Regions from separate parts of the Homo sapiens genome. Here region 1 is linked to region 2. Evidence: promoter capture Hi-C in human tissues and cell types (Jung and others, 2019). All regions are on one chromosome and are shown on one strand. Each heading gives the region's core, a stretch centred on a gene start or on the middle of the fragment in contact. The rest is flanking DNA. Distances are from core to core; before and after follow the strand shown. Region 1 overlaps SGPL1 (sphingosine-1-phosphate lyase 1). Region 2 holds the start of PRF1 (perforin 1).

Evidence for each region. The method cuts DNA at HindIII sites, captures the fragments that hold promoters and counts their contacts. A contact is called where the count stands out against the background at its distance.
Region 1: a contact is called between a fragment that was not itself captured here and the fragment with the promoter of PRF1 in region 2, in 4 of the 25 tissues and cell types used here (H1 embryonic stem cells, IMR-90 fibroblasts, hippocampus and 1 more).

The regions. Positions count from the first base shown.
Region 1 is chr10:70,863,983-70,868,342 of GRCh38, reverse strand. The region is part of intron 7 of SGPL1 (sphingosine-1-phosphate lyase 1); the gene reads right to left. Among named protein-coding and RNA genes, the nearest start is that of PCBD1, 22 kb to the left of the region's middle. The HindIII fragment of the contact is 9,380 bases long and covers 1-4,360 here.
Region 2 is chr10:70,601,107-70,605,619 of GRCh38, reverse strand. It overlaps PRF1 (perforin 1), which reads left to right and starts at 2,879. Exons shown (of 3, transcript NM_001083116.3): 1 at 2,879-2,975. The HindIII fragment of the contact is 18,183 bases long and covers 1-4,513 here.

The DNA.
Region 1 (4,360 bases), core at 1,588-4,087, 260 kb before region 2:
ATAATAAAGAAGAGATGCCATCTGTTGGGGGAGTCAGGAATGCCCCGGCTCTTCATGCCCTGATCTTGACAATGTTTGATACAGAAACAGATAAGGTCTTGGATGCATGCTGCAAGGCAGACACTGCCATGTCTTCCAGAAGGAAAATTTGGCTTTATTGGCTAAGCCTAATTTTGGCTCAGGTGAAGAATGAAAGCTACTAAATAATGAGCAGAAACTCAGCACTGCCTAGACAAATGCACACTTGGCCAGATCCCACCTATTCACAATCCATTTACATTTCTGTATTAATTTTTCAATTTTCAGATAAGATAGGGCATTTTATGCCATTCAAAAATATCAGAATTTTAATTTAAATTTTCAATACCTGTTAAAGAATGTGAAATTGTGATTACAATTCTAGTAAACTGTGCAATACACTAAAAAGAGACATTCAGATTTAACAAAGTAAACTGCTGATTTTGACAAGTTTGAAAGACAGAGAAAAGCAGAAGTTTCTACTTGATGGAAGTTTGTTGCCTTATCTGAAATAAAACAAAAATCCTAATTTTTTTTAAGTGAAGTGAAATGTTTTCCTAAAGTTTGGCCTAGCCCCTCTGATAAACACATTTCTTTACCAGAGTTCAAACAAAAAGACGTAGGGGTCTTTTTATTCATCTTATTTCCCTCACTGGACTATAAATTCATGAAAGTAGGGACCAGTCTGTTCATGACAAATTCCTAGCACCTGACATAGTGGCTGACACCTAACAAACCCTCAATCCATTTTTTTTTTTTTTTTGAGACAGAGTCTCACTCTGTTGCCCAGGCTGGAGTGCCATGGCATGATCTCGGCTCACTGCAGCCTTTGCCTCCTGGTTCAAGCGATTCTCCTGCCATAGTTACCCGAGTAGCTCGGATTACAGGCGCCCACCACCATGCCCACCTAATTTTTGTATTTTTAGCAGAGACGGGGTTTCACCATGTTGGCCAGGCTGGTCTCAAGCTCCTGGCCTCAAGTGATCTGCCCACCTCAGCCTCCCAAAGAGCTGGGATTACAGGTGTGAGCCACTGCACCTGGCCTTCACATTTCTTAATGCCTGACTTGACTCTCAGTAAACCTTGACCAACACAGGCATGTCATAGCCACCTGGCTATTTTTTTAAAAAATAATATATGAGAATGAATCATTCCAAAACAAACAAAAAGCCACAATACTAAACTAGTTGGACAACTTCTTAGACTTACCATCTCTGAAGATTCATACAATCTTTGAAAGGTTTTTTCAATTTACAGGTGAGAAAACTGAGCCCTTGAGGAATTAAAGTGTTTCACTCAATGTCATACATTAGCATCTGTTGATAAGAAGTAAAACTTTCTACGTTTTCATATTTAGTGTAGCTTAATACAAGATGGAATCAGAGAAAGTGACCACTGAACTTTGCTAAAATAATATCCACACATAGAACAAAAATACCATTGGATACAAAATCCCTGTGGCCAGGAGTTATATGGAAGATGAACTGAGAAAAGTCATTTTTTGACTCAGGAAGTCTTTATGAAACATGTGACCATCACCAAAAAATAATGCACCCAACTTGGGCATGGGACACTTGTAGGTCACTACATTTCTACGCTGCAGAAGACAAAGTGCTTACAGCTGAGGTCAGCTCTGCAAATCAGCAGCATGTCCTGTGGTTTAGCATAAAACCTCAGAATGTCACAAGAGTCGTCAAGCCAGCTGTGAAGAGTCGGGGAGGGACCAGCAAAGTCCAAGTCACCAGTGCAACAATCTCTTCGTAAGGTCCAGTAATGACCTAAGCAATAATATTTCCAAATTCCTAGTCACCTGCTTCATGTGTCCTACTTTTAGTCCAATAACTAGTCAAAACATCATTGTTATGCAAACACCAGTGGACTTTTGACTGTAAAAGTAGGAATACCTAAATTCTACTTTTTTCTTTTTTGTTTTTTTTTGAGATGGGGTCTCAATCTTTCACCTAGACTGGAGTGCCATGGCGTGATCTCGGCTCACTGCAATCTCCACCTCCCAGGCCTAAGAGATCCTCCCACCTCATCCCCCAAAGTAGCTGGGACTACAGGCACACCCCACCATGCCTGGCTAACTTTTGTATTTTTTGTAGAGACAGGGTTTCACCTAGTTGCCCAGGCTGGTCTCGAATTCCTGGGCTCGAGCGATCCACTTGCCTCAGCCTCCCATGGTGCTGGGACTACAGGCGTGAGTCACTGTGCCTGGGCCTAAGTTCTACTTTTAATATGTATTTTTGATTCTGTGTTTTAAAATGCTATTACTCTCCCACTTCTTTCTACCTCCTATACCCAAAGAGAAACAGGAATTTTAACTGTGAAGTAAGAAAATGGAGGCCTCAGTAACTATTTGTTATGTCATTCAACTTCTTTCAACATGTATAAAAACTCTCACTTTAACATATGATATGTATTTCAGAAAACAAGAGAACAACATCTACTTGGAAAATTTTCTTTCAGATGCTGTTTGGATCTGATAACATTAGCACAAGCCAAGAAGAATGTTTCACATGGTAACCTAATTTCTTTTAGTATGTGAAGTTACCTCTATCATTGTAACTGAGACAAATAAAGTTAATAGAAGGAAAGATAGTTTAAGGCTGAAGAACAAAGAATGAGAGAGCTTACAACTCTTAACTCTTAGCTAGGAATAACCTAAAGACTGCCCAGCCATTTGGTTTTATCTTCTGGCTTCCCACCTCTGAACAGTGAACTCTTTCTTCACTAGAAGCAGCTCATCCAGAGAGAGAAGTAAGAAGCTAAGGGAGGAGTGGGGGAGACAGAGTGGGAGAGGGAAAAAGACAATACCAGTGCTGATTAGTTATTTTATAAAAGTCTAAATATTAGAAGAGCCTGGGAATCAGACTCTATCCTTCTTCTGATCCCTCACACGTGCTGAAGATCAAAATAATAGAGATATGGTTTAATTGCAGCAATGCAAAAAACCCCTAGGCCTGGACTTCAGGAGTAAGATGGGAAGAAAAAAAAAAAGGGTGAGTGCAGGGAGAGAAAAGAGTCAAAATCTACAATAACAACAACCAAACAAGGAAAGAGAGATAATCTAGGCAATAAACTTCAAATATTGGCAATCAAAAAAAAAAAAGAAACAGTGAAACAGCAGAGAGCAGAAGTAAGCAAAACACTAGTTTCTAATCAGCCCTTGAAACTGTACCGCAAAGTCAGCAAAATCCTGAGAATTTTCCTTTATACCCCCAAATCTGCAGAGGCAAGCTGAGGGGGTTTCCTTATTTTCTTCTTCTTCTCATGAGTGAGTGGTAAACATGGCTGCTAGGGAGAAATGAGCAAAATGAAGAGAGAACATCAGGATTGGCTCTTTAGAGTGAAGACTTCAGTGAATTAAATAATCAGAGCTCAAAGGGTATATTATCTCTTCCAAATAAGAGAGTGAACTCTGATAGGTAACTTTGAAGAGAATCTCAGAATAGACCTGGTTATTCTAATACAGATAGAACAAAGCTTTGGCTGAGCTTTGTCCCCAGCCAAATGGTCTCAGACAGGAAGCACCCACAGTGCATAAGAACAATGTCTGGAGAATGCCACCCCAAGATGAGAGAAAATGGCAAGGAAACTATGCAAACAAACTAAAAGGCAGGGGAAAAGGTAGTATGTAGCATGCAAAATAAAAACCCAACACAGAAGGAAACAAGCTAAGGGATGAAGGAAACCCCTTATAACTTTCTCACTATAGGAAAATATCATAAGAACATGAATTTAAGAAAACAAAGAGTTCAAAACCTAGACCATGAAACAAAAAGAATGAGCTACAGACCTAAAAAAACAAAGCCAGTAGCATCCATACAGAACTAACAAAGACATTAGGAACAGCAAGGAATAAAATAAACATTGCCAAGAATAAAAATGCTGACTTCAAGGAAAAGGTCTGAAATAAGTTTATTGAACCCAGATTTAAAAAAGACAGAGATTGAAAGATCAATGCCACTCCAAATGTGGAGAACTGTGTTCAATCTGGCCAGAGGCAACCAAAAGTCATACAGAGAATGACTGCGATGGTTGGAAGTCTGTGAAATCATATGAAAAGCGGAGTAACCCAGAAAAATGTGGGGCAGAGAAGATTCAGGGAGAAAGGGGCTTTCAAATAGACGAAGGTCTGTAACATGGAAAAAACAATTATGGAACTTCTATTTCTAGCAATATTATATACCTTGAGCAACCTTCCTAACTGAAATAACTAAAAAACTTGATAAAACATCAAAAAAAAAAAATTTAAACCTATCACTAACCTAACATAAAGAAACTTGCTAAACCCCCAAACAAAGCAAAATCAAGAATCCTGCAAGATAAGTGAGTGGCA
Region 2 (4,513 bases), core at 1,630-4,129:
AAAATAGGGGCAAAGGACTTGAATAGACATTTCTCCAAAGAAGGTGTACAAATGGCCAATAAGCATATGGAAAGATGTTCAACTTCATTAGCCACTGGGGAGATCCAAGTCAAAACCACAATGAGGTACGACTTCACACCCACCAGGATGGCTATAATCAAGGTTTGGCAAGGAACTAGTGGAACCTTGGTTTGATTTGGAAAGGAGGAATTAGAACTCTCATAAGCTGCTGGAGAAATGCAAAACAATGCAATCACGTTGGAAAACACTTCCTCAAAAAGTTAAACCTATAGTTACCACATGTCCCAGCAAGTCCACTCCTAGATATATACTCAGGAGAAATGGAAACATATGTCCACACAGTAACCTGTACACAAATGTTCATAACAGCATTATTCATAACAGCTAAAAAGTAGAAACAACCAATAAATCCATCAGTTATGAATGGGTAAACAAATTGTGATATGTCCATATAATATAATATTATTCAGCCATGAAATGGACTAAAGTACTGATACATGCTACAACATGGATGAACCTTGAAAGTATTATGTTAAATGAAACAAGCCAGACACAAAAGGCCACATATGCTATGATTCTTTTTATATGAATTGTCGAAAATGGGAAAATTAACAGAGAGATAAAGTAGATTAGCGTTATGAAGAAATGAGAAATGGCCAGGCACGGTGGCTCACGCCTGTAATCCCAGCACTTTGGGAGGCCAAGGTGGGCTGATCACTTGCAGATCAGGAGTTCAAGACCAGCCTGGCCATCATGGTGAAACCCCGTCTCTACTAAAAATACAAAAAAAAAAAAAAAAAATTAGCCAGGCGTGGTAGCGCATGCCTGTAGTCCCAGCTACTGGGGAGGCTGAGGTGGGAGAATCGCTTGAACCTGGGAGGCAGAGGTTGCAGTAAGCCGAGATCATGCCACTGCACTCCAGTCTGGGTGACAAATCAAGACTTCATCTCAAAAAAAAAAAAAAAAAGAAAAAGAAAAAGAAAAAGAAATGAGAAATGACCACCAGTGGGTATAGGTTTTATTTCTGGAAAGTGATGAAGATGTTCTAAAATTGACTGTAGCGGTGGCTGTACAACTCTGTGAACATACTAAAGCCATTGAATCATATACTTGAAATGGGTGAATTATATGGTATGTGAATTACATCTAAAGATTGTTGTTACTAAAGAAAACCATATACATGGTGTCTGGTGATTGAACAAATTACGCACTTGTTGAAACTTGTGTCTCTGAGGAAAAACTCTGCTTAATGCACATTCAAGTGTCAAGTTTCAGAAGGACAGCTGTCATCAGTTAAACGAGTCAAAAACAGTCATCACCCTCAATGTCATTTCGGCTCTTTAATGGATCCCCTAACAACCACTAGCATCTCTTGGGCATTAGCCACTTCATAAGCCACTTGAAACCTGCCAAGTGTACATTTTATCATTAGCTGGAAGGATGTGTAGAATTCCAAAGTCCTCTCTTTGATTTTATAGGTGAGGAAACTAACGCTCAGAAAGGGGGTTGATATCTATCGCCGTGAGGCATACGGTAAGTTTCTGGTGAAGCTGGGATCAGAACCTGTTTAGACTTTGCCTCTCTTTTCCCGCAGATACTTTGCAGGACTTCTATGTCCCTCAAACCGGCCTTCCTGTCATGGTCAGGAAAGAAACTCCTCACAGCCTCAGCATCCAAGTCAGGCCATGGGTGACAGCTGGAAAGTGATCAGGAGGCTGCAGTTTCTAGAAGAGGGTGGGGACACTGCGGAGAGAAGATGGGGCCAGATTCCGAGAAGACAGCATAAGCCCCTGTTCCTGTAAGAGCAGGGACGGAAGCAGGGACATAAACGCAAGGGATGAGCCCCAAAGTGTGACCCATGAGACATGATGTCACATGTGGTCTGGAGCCTGCGGCCACTTCTTCCCATCATATACACAGTTATGAGAACAAGTTGTGAGAACCACCTCCTCCCTTACCCAGCTGCCCCCACCCCAGAAGCCGTGTGATTTTGCCCCCCAGTGCCCTGTGAGTCACTCCACCCATGGAAACCTCACCCCACCCTGACCTCAAGCAAGGCAGAGTGCAGAAGACATGTCCTCCGGTGCTACCAGACCACTCTCACCAGCACCCACGACCTCAGCAGGGCTGGAGCCAGCGTGGAGGCCACTGGCTGTCCTCACAAAGCGAGGAGCAGGAGCCCCTGTTCGAGGAACATGCTTGGAGTTCGGAGCCTGGGCTAGGGTGGGATGTAGGTTGAGCAGGAAGTGGATGGCAAGATTAGAGCAACATCTCTCTTCTCCCACTCAGGGAGGAGGGAATGGCCACAGGCTCTGACACTCAAGAAGGGCCAGGCACAGTTCCAAGCACTTCACAACAACCCCTAGGGTCTACATGACCTACAATCCCAATTGTTCAGTGAAGAAACTGAGGCACAGTGAGGCTGAAGAACCCTACCAGTCCACACTGCTGGTGCATAACCGAGCTGCCCAAGCCCCGGCGGTCTGGCGTGTAGGCCCATGCTCTGAGCCGCCGCCTCTGCTTGCCTCTTACATCCCACACATGCGATGCTGTGCATCAGAAGCAAGGAGATGGCCCTGCTGGCCTGTTCATCAACACCAGGGCCGAGTCTCAAAGTCCTCAGCGCCCCGCCCTCCTCCGCCTGTGTGCCCTGAGTCCCCGAGCCCCAGCAGCTCTACTCGGCAGATGAGCCTCTGGCCCTGCTGCTCGCTTCCTGAGGGCTGTCAGTGGGGAGCCGGATGAGGGCTGAGGACAGGGTGGGTGCTTGTGGGAGGGGAGAGCACAAAGGACCTGTGACCACAGCTGGGGGCGGGGCAGGAAGTAGAAGTGATGTGAGTGGTGGCTGGTGCAAGGAGCCACAGTGGGCTGCCTGGGGGGCTGATGCCACCATTCCAGGAGCCTCGGTGAAGAGAGGATATCCATCTGTGTAGCCGCTTCTCTATACGGGATTCCAGGTAAGGAGAGAGCAGGGATTGGGGGGCCTGGGGCCCTGGGTGGAGGGGAAGAGGCTGATGGAGCAGGAAGTGCTGTGACCTATAAGACAAGACACCTGGGTCACAGACGGTGCCCATCACTAACTCGCTGGGCAGCCCTGTGTCCACCCTGGGCCTCAGTTTCCTCATGTATGAAATGAAGAGGTAGCGTGCAGTTTCTAAGGCCCTGCAAGTGCTGACATTAAAGCTTCTAAGAAAGCTGGAAAGAGGCTCCCTGGGACAGAATACCATGAGAGTCAGGATGAGGGCTGAGTTCACTGGATTAGGGTTATGACTGTGCCCGCCTCCTAGCTGGGATGAGCCCAGGGCCTTTGAAGATTCCCCTGGCCTCTTTGCCTCCCTGGGGCGAGCCACGCTGCCTGAAATTCCACCCTTCAAGTCACACCTTTGGGCAGGGCAGGAGGCTCCAGCTATAATGGGGGCTCTCCATAGCCCTCTTGTCTCAGAACCTGTGGTACCCAAGGGCAAAGGCCTTTGAAGAGCTCAGCTTGGATAAGGTTAGGCTTGGGTAAGGTTAGAGAAAGGAGGTTCCAGATCATAAACAGGCCCAGGCAAGGCCCCAGAAACACCTTAAAATTAGGAAGAACCTTCCAGACAATCATTGTCCATAGTAGGCAATAGGGGGGCCCCTGTCACTGCCGAAGGCCACAGAGCTTGGCAGGGAGTGGCAAAGAGGGGAGGGGCAGCAAGAAAGGATCTGAAGAGCAACCATCGAGGCCTCTCCCCACACAAAATCCAAGGGTGTGGTCAGGTCTGCCCCTTTTTTTTTTTTTTTTTGAGGCAGAGTCTTACTCTATCACCCAGGCGGGAGTGCAGTGGTACGATCTTGGCTCACTGCAACCTCCGCCTCCTGGGTTCAAGCGATTCTCCTGTCTCAGCCTCCCAAGTAGCTGGGATTACAGGCACCCGCCACCATGCCCAGCTAATTTTTGTATTTTTAGTAAAGAGGGGGTTTCACCACGTTGGCCAGGCTGGTCTCGAACTTCTGACCTCCAGTGATCCACCTGCCTCTGCCTCCCACAGTGTTCGGTTTACAGGTGTGAGCCACCACACCTGGCCAGGTCGGCAGATTTTATTCTAGAATTCGGGCTGATGTTATTCCATAAAGCTCAGAGGGAGAGCCCCAAAGGGAAAATGAGAAGAATAGGTGCAATATAGGACCTCATTTCTCTTCCAATTCTGTTAAGGGCTCAGTGGGAGGGAGAGAGGTTAGAGAGAGTGACAGAGACAAAGAAACAGAGTGAGAGTCAGGGTGGGCAAAGGGTGGCTTGTTCTGGGGCCAAAAATGACACTTCTTCAGAATGAAGGCTTCCTCAGGTCCCCAGACCCCTCCCTAAACCTGCTACAGCTACTCTGTCCCCTCTTCTGTGGCCACAGCCCCCTCCCCACCACCCACAGTTGTGTCCTGGGGACAGAGCCATCCACCTAGATCCCCATTAGGCCTTAGGGAAATTCTAAAAAGGGGCTCCCCTTGGCTGGGCTTTTCCCCTCTCTGGGCC